Linked DNA regions of Homo sapiens: regions 1, 2 and 3 are each linked to region 4. The links are contacts of gene promoters, found by promoter capture Hi-C in human tissues and cell types (Jung and others, 2019). All regions are on one chromosome and are shown on one strand. The core of a region is centred on a gene start or on the middle of the fragment in contact, and the rest is flanking DNA. Distances in the headings are between cores, read along the strand shown. Region 1 holds the start of LINC02687 (long intergenic non-protein coding RNA 2687). Region 2 has its middle 20 kb from the start of LINC02696. Region 3 has its middle 1.6 kb from the start of LINC02696. Region 4 holds the start of SLC35C1 (solute carrier family 35 member C1).

Region 1 (2,700 bases), core at 138-2,637, 430 kb before region 4:
AGTTGGAAGCCCTCCCTCTCCCTGGACTTCTAGATGTTTGAAGACTCCATAGGCACTTTCTACCGTTTGGTGTCTGTGAGGCAGGGTCGTTTCTTTAAGCCTTTGTGGGTGGACTGTCAGCAAAGGCAGTTTCTGGCATGTCCTTGTACTGTGTTGATGAGTGGTATCAAACTTACCTTCACATCAGCCTCACTTGGTTGGTGCTGATTTAAACATACATATTCCCAGGCCCTTCCTCAGGCTCGCAGAATCAGAATCTCTGAGGGAAGGGCCCAGAAGCCTGCATTTTAACAAACTCTTCAGGTGATTCTGCTGCAGGCATTCAGGGAACTACACCTTGGAGACCCCTGGCAGGTTTCTAATGGGTTATCTGGGAAACCAGGGGGAAGGGGCAGTCAGGAGGAGGAGGGGGCCAGCCCAACCGCCCTTAGCATGCATACCCTGTTATGCTTTTTGACTTAGACTTGGGAGCAGATGCTTTTAGATGTAGGTCTCCTTAGAAACAGATGCTATCCCTGTTCTAGAATATAGAATAGAGTAGTTCCCCATCCTCTAGGTGTGCTTCATTTGCTGTCCACCCACTCATCCATCTCTCGACCCACTCACCCACCCATCCATCCACCCACTCTTTCATCCACCCACCCACCCACCCATCCATCCACCCACCCTTTCATCCACTCACCCACCCACCCACACACCCACCCATCCTTCCATCTACCCATCCTTTTTGGAGTGACCACCTGCTTTGTGTCTGGCTCTGGGCTGAGCTTTGGAGACACCAGAACTCTCCATTTAGACAAACAGACACAGAAATCATCATAATACAGAGGGACCTGTTCAATGATCAATGTCTCGAATAAGTACTGTGGTGGCACAGATGACAGACTCCACTGGCAGGGAGAAGGGATCAGAGAAGGCTTTGGAAGACAGCAACCTGTGAGTGGGCCATAAAGGACAAACAGTTTGCTAGATGGAGAGTGTGAGCGTGAGGGTGTGTAGGAGGGAAAGTCAGTTTTGCGAACTAAATCCTCTCACATCCACATTCAGAGCAGGGGCCTATCCCCAGGCCCCATGGAGCCCGTATTCGGAGGCTTATCTGTAGCTGCAACCTCTAAACTTGGCCCCATCTCCTGACATTTCTGAGTGAAAAGGAGCCACTCTTTAGTGTGTGTGCTGCAGGCTCCTGTGGCTGTCACAGTACAGTTATTGCGGAATTAACAGGGGAACAGCCATCCAAGTGGAGAGGCACAGAATACTTCCTGTCCTAGCTCTGCCTTCAACTCACTGTGTAACTGTGGACAGTTTCGGCCTCAGTTTCCCCATCATCAAGATGGGAGATTGGCTGTCAACTCTGCCAGCTTCCTGCCTGGAGCGCAGCCCTGACACCCTTCCTGCAAGATACACGTTAGCAACGACCGTTCTCTCTACGCCAAGCTCATTTGTCTGAGCGTATCAGCAACACGACACCTCGCAGTTCAGTGGATTTGATGTGAGCTCCCGCCCCTGGCATACCTAGCGTGTAATACCTGCTGCTGAAAAGGGGTATTTGAAGGCAAAGTGCATGGCAGAAGGAAGCCTGTAGGTGGCGCTATGGCTCCGGTTGCCGAGCTGCTCCCAGGAGATTCGTTTTCAGAGGATCTGAGAAAAACCCGGCAGGGTTGATGGCAGCTCTTTCTTCTCGGTGCCCTCGCAGTGCAGCAGGCCCCGCTTATTTGCAAGAAGCAGCCAGGTCAGCCCACTGGGCCTCCCCACCTCTTGTGCCCCTTCGCACATTTCAGAGCTCTCTCTTTTCCTCTGGGTCCTTCCATTCAAGAGAGGAGGAGGAGGAGGGGGTGAGCCTGTTGCGAACGGCGTTGGTGGGGCAGGGGCCGGTTCCCCTGTTTCTGGGGAGCCTTTTCTGTGCTGGTTGCAGGCAGGGGCCCTCAGTGTGGAGCTGTGGTGAGCCTGTGCCCCGTCGTATTTGGGTCACAGCCTCCGTGACCCCTAGCCCCCGCCAGGCACTCCACCCCTGCAGTGATTCGCTTGATATTTTAAAAGCACTCCATCTTCTGCCTGCTGCCTTCTCTCCATTCATCTGGGTCCAGGTTTTCGCCGAGCCATCTAATAAAGAATCCAGGGGGGAGAATGATGGGGGCGAGGAGAGGGAAAGTGCTAACATTTATTAAGTGCCCGCTGGGTGCCCAGCACTTCCTCAACAACTAGAGCAGCGGTCTTTCTGCTTTCTTTCAGCTGCATAACCCTTTCCTCCATCCAAAATCGCAAGCCTAACCTGGCCGTGTAAACAAACACCAGGGAAGCGCCTCTGATGGAAGGGGATGGGGCACCTAAGGCCCTGTCTCTCACCATGTAGCATCCTCCCCACTCCTAACAGACACTTTGGTGCTTCCATGAAACCTGGATCTAAAAGCTCTGTGCTCATTAAATCTACATATAACTCTCCAAGGAAATAGTATCCCCATTTTTATAATACCAAGCTAAAGGCCAGAGAGGGAGAGTGTAGGATCACACAATTTTTTTTTTTTTTTGAGATGGCGTTTCACTGTCACCCAGGCTATAGTGCAATGGCGTGATCTCAGCTCACTGCAACCTCCACCTCCCTGATTCAAGTGATTCTCCTGCCTCAGCCTTCTGAGTAGCTGGGATTATAGGCGCGCGCCACCACGCCCAGCTAATTTTTGTATTTTAATAGAGACGGGGTTT
Region 2 (2,700 bases), core at 201-2,700, 470 kb before region 4:
ACACAGCCTACATTTAAGACAGGAAGTAAGGAGCAGGGGGAGAGAAAAGACTTTCTTCTGCCGTGATTCCTGTGCCCAGAAAGAAAATATTTCCCGGAAGCCCTGCAGGAGGCTTCTCCTATCTCATTGGCCGGAATGAGGTCACATGGTGGACCCTGGACCAATGCCTGCAAAGGACCTACCCTTCCTGAGATGAAGGGATCTGGCCTTCTAACAGAGACAAAAACCAGGGCTCTGTTAGCATGAAAGAAAGGGGGCAGGGGGCACGTGCCGACCAAAATCATTAAGACCCCTTGCCTAATAGCATCTCCAGGTTCCAGTTGCATGAGCCTTTTCAGAACTTAAATTTGAAAGCTTTTCGTTGACATATTTTCTCCACTTCAATCCTCTCTCTGGAACTCAGGATGTATTTCTGAGCGATTTTCTTCATTTATAATTTTTTTTATTTGGGCTTCCTTATTTATATTTATTTATTTGTTCATTTTTTTGAGATGGAATCTTGCTCTTTTGCCCAGGCTGGAGTGCAGTGGTGCGATCTCGGCTCACGGCAATCACCACCCCCGGGTTCAAGCAATTCTCCTGCCTCAGCCTCCCGAGTAGCTGGGATTACAGGCACCCACCACCATGCCCAGCTAATTTTTGTATTTTTAGTAGAGACGGGGTTTCACCATGTTGGCCAGTCTGGTTCTTGAACTCCTGACCTCAGGTGATCCACCCACCTCGGCCTCCCAAAGTGCTAGAATTACAGGCATGAACCACCGCGCCCGGCCCCTTCCTTAAGTTGCTTGATTTGAGATGTTGCTGTTCATGATGTTTCTCCATACCAGTCCTTAATTTTGACCTCACCTCTGCCTCCATGTGTGAGAAGGTTGAGTAGGAGGCGGGAGGTGGTAGAACGTTCCAGGGCTTCAGCACAGCCGGGCCTGCTCCTGGCAGGGCAAAATAGATGAGGCGTTCACCAGGACGGTTAGACTGAAATCCTGTTTGGCCACTGAAAGCTGAAGAGGCAACCTCGTGGACTGTTTTTCAGTTATGTACCAGTCTGAAAGGCATTGGAGGAAATGTGGAAATGCATCCAGCAATGCAGCTACTGTTCACTTGAGTTAATAGAAGAGGGAGCAGAGCTTCAAGTGCCAAATGGAAATAATTTTGTAGATGACTTGAAAAGAAATTTAGTAAGGACTTAAATCCGAAATCATAGCCTCCTTGTTGTTAGAAAGTGAGGGAGTTGCAGTTACAGACACAAAGGAAAACAGCACAAAAATGGAAGGAAAGCCAAAAGGGCCCACGCAGAAAATTTAACACAGGATCAGAGGCCCCAAGAGAGAAGCAAAATCCTAATACACATCCTCTATCCGAGAAGCAGATGGCAGCTTAGAAGGAAAATGCGGTAAGAGATGGCAGGCCACAGTGTTTCTGGAAAGGAGGACCGTCCTTGAATTATGACCTCTTCTTAATTTTGGGGTGGATTTCCTGATGGAGGGTGCTTTTTGAACATTCTGTACCTGAGGTCTTTTTTTGTGCTAAGGAAAAATAGGAAAATGAATTCGAGTTCCCCTAAACCAGAGTGGGGTCGCTCATTCCTAACAATCAAGATTCAAAGAGAATGAAAAGATGCAACCCTCTGTACCTTAGTTTCTGCATCTGTAAAAGAGAAATTAGTGCCTGTGTGACTCAGTTGGGCACACATTCCTATTCCTTCTAGACTACCTTCCTGCACTCTAGAAACTGCAAAACTGAAAACCAAATTTGAGACTCCTTTGCAGCTAGAGTGCAGGCACATGGCCTGCTTTCCACCAACCAGTTACACTCATTCAGGACTTGCATGTGGAAGTGAGTGGTGCAAGAAGGCTGGGAGCCTGGACCTGCTGGAAGGCACAGAGGCAGGGGTGCTGGGTGTTCTGGGAAATTGGGAGGAGTTTTGACTTCAGTCCCAAACATCATGAGTGTCAGTTAACAGGTGGAAGCAGCAGAGGGCTCTCTGAACAGCTCTGCAGAGAGTGGGGGCATTTTAAGGGCTTGGCTGACTCTGTTGTCCAGGTCTGTCCTGGTCTGAGTACCATTTAAGCTTGATTCTGTGGTCCCCCCAAAAAAGTCCATTAAGTATTTAATAAATACATTTTAATAGATCTCTGTCAGCATGAACTTGCTAATGTGGACTCTGTTGCCTGCAACCAAGGACCTTGGCCTTAACCACACATAAAGCATTAGATCAGTTCCTGGCACGTGGCAAATCCTCACTATATATTAGCTACCATTCTGTATTATTTGAATGCTCTACAAAGAGATGGTACATCTGCTCTTATTTAGCAAGCATAGGTGTTAGAGTTCATCAATTTCTTTCAAAAGGAAGTGAACGCGCACATTACTCTCCCCTGGGAGTGCAAAACTCAATCCTGCCAACTCAAGGTAAACTGTCACTGTCAGGTGCTCTCAAGCTCTGTCAATTAAGGCTCCTTCCCCTCTGTCCTCTCCAGGCATTGGTGGTGTGAGGGGCACTCCCCTTCCCCTCATCTAGTTCCCTCCTACGGAGCATCCGAGGTTGATGTAATTTGCCAGGCCTGTGTATTGATGTCTGATATCATCTGCATTCACTGCTGTCACAGCCACTGCCACTCTGTCTTCCCTCATCAGGTACCTAAGCGTCTGCACCCCCTGCGTCCCATTGCTAGGCCTCTCCAGGTTCACCCACCAGCTTTC
Region 3 (2,701 bases), core at 28-2,527, 450 kb before region 4:
AGAGATCTGTAAAATTACAAGTAATAAAAATGCATATTAAGATAGAACTTATCAGATTCCCAATAACAAAAAGACATTTTAAAGTCAGACAAGTAGGGTAAACAACAGGACATGGAAAACTGAGAGCTGAGTATGGGTACCAAAACCAATACATGGCACTGGCTGCAGTCTCTGGTCATCTGCTGTCTCCTGACTCCTACTATAAAGGAGGCTGGGCCGGGCGCAGTGGCTCACGCCTGTAATCCCAACACTTTGGGAGGTCAAGGTGGGTGGATCACTTGAGGTCAGGAGTTCGAGACCAGCCTGGCCAACATGGTGAAACCCTGTCTCTCTACTAAAAATACAAAAATTAGCCAGGTGTGGTGGCACACGCCTGTAATCCCAGCTACTTTGGAGGGTGAGGCATGAGAATCGCTTGAACCCTGGAGGCAGAGGTCGCAGTGAGCCGAAATGGTGCCACTGCACTCCAGCCTGGGCAACAGAGCAAGACTCTGTCAAAAAAAAAAAAAAAAAAAGAGGCTATTATCCTATTTCAGACATTTTAAGGTTACTGTAGAGTCACTATCTAGGAATCTACATGGCTAAAATCTGCTTGCTCTGCTATCCCCCCAACCCCTACAGCCACGCACACATCCTCCACTGATCTCAAACTTCTCAGGCACTTCATCTCCTTCCTTCAATGATCTCACCTCCCTTTCCTAGGCAAAATGCACACTGCAAGACAGGACATACTTCACCTTCCAGCATCAAACTTTCATCCACGGCTGCTCTGGCCATGTGTGTGAATTAGAAAGAGGCACTCTTTCCTCAAGGGTCTTTACTATCATTTGCCAGGAAACAGTCAAGGCCACTCTTCAGTTTGTCCATGGGCTGATCAACATAAAAAATCCCTGGCTCCTTCTCATCAATATTTAAACAAGCTTTGGCTGGGTGTGGTGGCTCGTGCCTGTAATCCCAGCACTTTGGGAGGCCAAGGTGGGAGCAACTGAGGTCAGGAGTTTGAGACCAGCCTGGCAAACATGGTGAAACCCCATCTCTACTAAAAATACAAAAATTAGCCTAGCGTGGTGGCGCGTGCCTGCAATCAGAGCTACTCAGGAGGCTAAAGTAGGAGAATCATTTGAACCCCAGTGGCAGAGGTTGCAGTGAGCCAATATTACACCAATGCACTCCAGCCTCGGCAACAGAGTGAGACTACATCTCAAGAAAACAAAACAAAACAAAAACCCCCCAAAACAAGCTTATGTTTCTCCAATCTTAAAAAATAATAATTAAAAATCATCATTTTCCTTTCAGAATCACTCTCATTTCTTCACAGACAACTTCTTGGAAGATTTGCCTATGTTCATTTATCTCCATTTTCTCACCATCACCCTCACTTATTCCTCAACTCACCACAAGCTGACCTTCTCCAGCCATTCCAAGGAATCTGCTCCAGGTAACAACAAAGTCTGCTCAGTCATCTCACTAATTTATCAGCAAAACTGACCTAATTACTCTTCCTGAAGTGCTCTTCCCTTGCTCCCTGCAATGCCGCATTTCCCTGGTTCCTCTCCTAGGGCTGCCTGCTCATCTTCCCTTTCTTTAGTAGAAGAGCTCTTGACACTCTGTCCTGCGCCTCTTTCCCAAAGGGTATTCTCTCCACCAGGCAATTTCTTCTAAGCTCCTGCTCTAGCACCATTCATATACAAGAATCTAAGGCACAGATTTCTAGCTCAGGCCTGTCATCTAAAAAATCAAACCAGGCACATCCATTGGCCTGTTGAGTTTCTCCCCTAGAAGACCTTCAAGGCTTAATATATGTAAAACCAAACTTCCCACACATCAGCTTCTTCTCCTGTGGTTCCCTTTTAGTATGTGATGGCCCAACATTCTCCCAGCTATCAGCCCAGAAGCCTGGCAGTCACCCCAACTCTGCAAATTTCACACACCCAATCCACCACCACCACTGCCGCCACCTGCTTCCCAATGATCTCTCTCTCTCCCTCCCTCCCTCCTGTATTCTTCAGCTGTGGCCTGAGTCCAAGTAACCAAAGTCAAGAAAAGCAGGGCCATGTACTCTGTACTCACCAGCCTGGTGCTTGAAACCCTCAACTATTGTAAAGTGGTTATGTTAATGAAAAGGGGTCCCCATCCAGACCCCAAGAGAGGATTCTTAGACTTTAAGCAACGAAGAATTTGGGGCAAGTTCAAAGAGTAAAGTGAAAGCAAGTTTATTAAAAAAGTAAAGGAATAAACGATTGGCTACACCATAGGCAGAACAGCGGCATGGGCTGTTCAACTGTGTATACGTTATTTATTGATTATACACTAAACAAGGGGTAGATTAGTCAAGAGTATTCTGGGGAAAGGAGTGGCAATTCCCAGAACTGAGGGTTCCACCCTCGCCTTCAGATCATATAGAGTAACTTCCTAACATCGCCATGGCATTTGTAAATGCTCATGGTGCTGGTGGGAGAGTCTTTCAGCAAGCTAATGTATTATAATTAGCATATGATGAGCAGTGGGGACAACCAGAGTTCACTTTCATTGCCAATCTTGGTTTTGGTGGATTTTGGCCGGCTTCTTTAAGTATCCTGTTTTACCAGCAGGGTCTTTGTGACCTGTATCTTGTGCTGACCTCCCTGTCTCATCCTGTGACTTAGAATGCCTAACCTCCTGGGAATGCATCCCAGCAGGTCTCCACCTTCTTTTATGCAGC
Region 4 (2,700 bases), core at 201-2,700:
AAGTATTCTTAGTATTTTAAAACAAATCCCAGCCATGACATCATCTTACCCGTTAATTAAATGGCACTAATTAAATGGTGCTTGAAATATTACAAACATCTATGTTCGACCATACCACCTAGAGTTCTGGGCAAGAAGGTTGGGACCCACAGGTCAAGCCTAGCCCCTTAGTTTTACCATGAAGATAACTCAGGCCGTCGGAGAAAGTGGCCTGCCCAACGCAGGTGCTAGAGCGCGAACCAAGAGAAGTCGATCCTCCTGGTCTCCCCGGCTGCCTGGTGAGTGGCAGACCACAGGCTAGACTTCCCAGGCCCCGGCCCTGGAAGGGGCGGGGAACCCTCCCCCTCACTGCCAGCTGGAAGAATCCGAGCGGTCCCCGCACGCACTTCTGGAAGTGCAAGCCGGTAGCGCGGCGGGCCAGGGATACAGCCAAGTCCCGGGACGTGCCAGCTGCGGTAACTGAAGCCGGGTCCCGGGCGGGCGGGGGTACCAGGGACAGGAGTAGCCTTGGAAAGAGGAGAGGGCCTCCTCCCACGACCGTCCGGATCACCGCCTCTCCGCCGGCACCCCCGGGGCCCATGCCGCGAACAGGCCGGCGAGGCTGGCAAGGTGCCCGGGCCCGGGGCGGAAAGCAGGAAGTCGATCCCGCGGGCGCGGCCCAGGGTGCGGCGCTGCAGATGCAGCACGGGGTCGCGGGGCGGGCGCCCAGTGCACCGGAGGAGGTGAGCGCCAGGTCGCCTTCGCGGCCCGGGGACACAGGCAGGGACGCGGGAGCTGATGCGGCTGGACCGGCCGGGGAAACAGTATTTTCTGGAAGGGGTAAGAGATGCTGTCTTGAGCCTTTGGAATCTCGGATCCGGGCCGCCCAGAGGACCTCGACAGGAGCACAGGGAGGACAAACTGAAGTCCGAGAGAGGCGGCGTGGCCTCCGGCCTCGGGGAGCGCTGCCGGGGGTCTCGGGCTTGGGAGAGGGCCTGGGGGCGGTGAAAATGGGGGGAAAGGAGGGGACCACAACATTGTTATGGAAGAGTGAGCTCGGATTGGCAGAGGGACGCGGGGCTGCAACGCGAGTCTCCGGAGGTGGAGGGGTCCAGGCTGATGTAGCGCCGCCCGGGTCCTGGGTCGGGGTTCCGGGAAGTGGACCTGCGAGCCAAGCCTAGCCAAGTCGGGGGACGGAGGCTCCGGGGCGGACGGAGCTGAGGGTGGGCAGGCGAGGTTGATGGAGCCCTTCCAGGAAGCAGGGCGAGGCTCAAGCACCCAGAAAAACCTGTGGCTGCCGAGGTCCCCCGCCAGCAGCGGGCAGCGGAGCGCAGGGGCGGGGCTGGGGACTGGCGAACTCCGCCTCTCTGGGGCTGTCGCTTTAAGGGCAAGGCGGGGCGTGCGGGCCCTTTAAGGCCACGTGGGGGCGTGTCAGGAAGTGAGTCCAGGGCCCGCCTCCCGGGGAGTCGGCCTCGGATGTCCGGAGGCTCCTGGGCTGAGCCGGCGACAGAGCCCGGGAAGGCAGCGAGACGTGGGCGCCGGCCCAGCCCCCTCCCGCGTCCTTCAGCCCCAAGCCCCGAGCCCCTCTGACCCTTCCGCAGCCCTCCCTCCAGCCGCGCCCGGCCTCCGGCAGCTCCCTGTACGCCTCCCTCCCCCTGCCCGCCCCTCCCTCCCACAGCCGCCCATGACGCCCTCTCGGCACCTCTTCCCACTCTGCCACGCGTCCTTTTCCTGCACCTTCGCCCCGCGTACCTACTCCTGCCCCGCCCTGCCATTCCTCTCCCCTCCCTTCTCTCTGCGACCCCTCCCTGTTAGGCCCCAGCCTCTTCTCCCCTCACAGGTCTTCTCTGTCCTGGCCTCACCGCCTTATCCTATTCCTCTCCCTTGCCCTGTGTCTTGTCTCAGAGCCCCCTCGGGGTGGGAGTAGGTTGTGGAGCAGCACAACTGGGCTCACCCCAAAGCAGAACTTCTCAATCCATGAGGACAATGGGGAGGCCTTTAGGCCAGCCCACATGTGACAATGGAGGGCTGCGGCTTCCTTGCGGAGAGCACAAGTGAGCTCACTGCCCTGGACTCCAGGGAATCAGAGTTCTGGCCGCGGGGTGACCCAGCTCCTCTGCTACCATGAATAGGGCCCCTCTGAAGCGGTCCAGGATCCTGCACATGGCGCTGACCGGGGCCTCAGACCCCTCTGCAGAGGCAGAGGCCAACGGGGAGAAGCCCTTTCTGCTGCGGGCATTGCAGATCGCGCTGGTGGTCTCCCTCTACTGGGTCACCTCCATCTCCATGGTGTTCCTTAATAAGTACCTGCTGGACAGCCCCTCCCTGCGGCTGGACACCCCCATCTTCGTCACCTTCTACCAGTGCCTGGTGACCACGCTGCTGTGCAAAGGCCTCAGCGCTCTGGCCGCCTGCTGCCCTGGTGCCGTGGACTTCCCCAGCTTGCGCCTGGACCTCAGGGTGGCCCGCAGCGTCCTGCCCCTGTCGGTGGTCTTCATCGGCATGATCACCTTCAATAACCTCTGCCTCAAGTACGTCGGTGTGGCCTTCTACAATGTGGGCCGCTCACTCACCACCGTCTTCAACGTGCTGCTCTCCTACCTGCTGCTCAAGCAGACCACCTCCTTCTATGCCCTGCTCACCTGCGGTATCATCATCGGTGAGTGGCAGCTGGGGCCACGGGGGATAGAGTGGTCATGGGGACTGAAGCAGTGAAGAACA

What was found. The method cuts DNA at HindIII sites, captures the fragments that hold promoters and counts their contacts. A contact is called where the count stands out against the background at its distance.
Region 1: a fragment that was not itself captured here is called in contact with the fragment with the promoter of SLC35C1 in region 4 in 1 of the 25 tissues and cell types used here (thymus).
Region 2: a contact is called between a fragment that was not itself captured here and the fragment with the promoter of SLC35C1 in region 4, in 2 of the 25 tissues and cell types used here (bladder and heart right ventricle).
Region 3: a fragment that was not itself captured here is called in contact with the fragment with the promoter of SLC35C1 in region 4 in 2 of the 25 tissues and cell types used here (lymphoblastoid cells and psoas muscle).

Annotation. Positions count from the first base shown.
Region 1 is chr11:45,369,806-45,372,505 of GRCh38, forward strand. It overlaps LINC02687 (long intergenic non-protein coding RNA 2687), which reads left to right and starts at 1,592. Exons shown (of 5, transcript NR_122071.1): 1 at 1,592-2,700. The HindIII fragment of the contact is 5,980 bases long and covers 1-2,700 here.
Region 2 is chr11:45,333,737-45,336,436 of GRCh38, forward strand. No RefSeq gene overlaps it. Among named protein-coding and RNA genes, the nearest start is that of LINC02696, 20 kb to the right of the region's middle. The HindIII fragment of the contact is 4,338 bases long and covers 1-2,700 here.
Region 3 is chr11:45,352,436-45,355,136 of GRCh38, forward strand. No RefSeq gene overlaps it. Among named protein-coding and RNA genes, the nearest start is that of LINC02696, 1.6 kb to the right of the region's middle. The HindIII fragment of the contact is 6,284 bases long and covers 1-2,701 here.
Region 4 is chr11:45,803,699-45,806,398 of GRCh38, forward strand. SLC35C1 (solute carrier family 35 member C1) reads left to right here and starts at 1,451. Exons shown (of 2, transcript NM_018389.5): 1 at 1,451-2,638. The coding sequence starts at 2,104. RefSeq lists an enhancer at 246-405 and silencers at 576-745, 1,476-1,705. The HindIII fragment of the contact is 31,315 bases long and covers 1-2,700 here.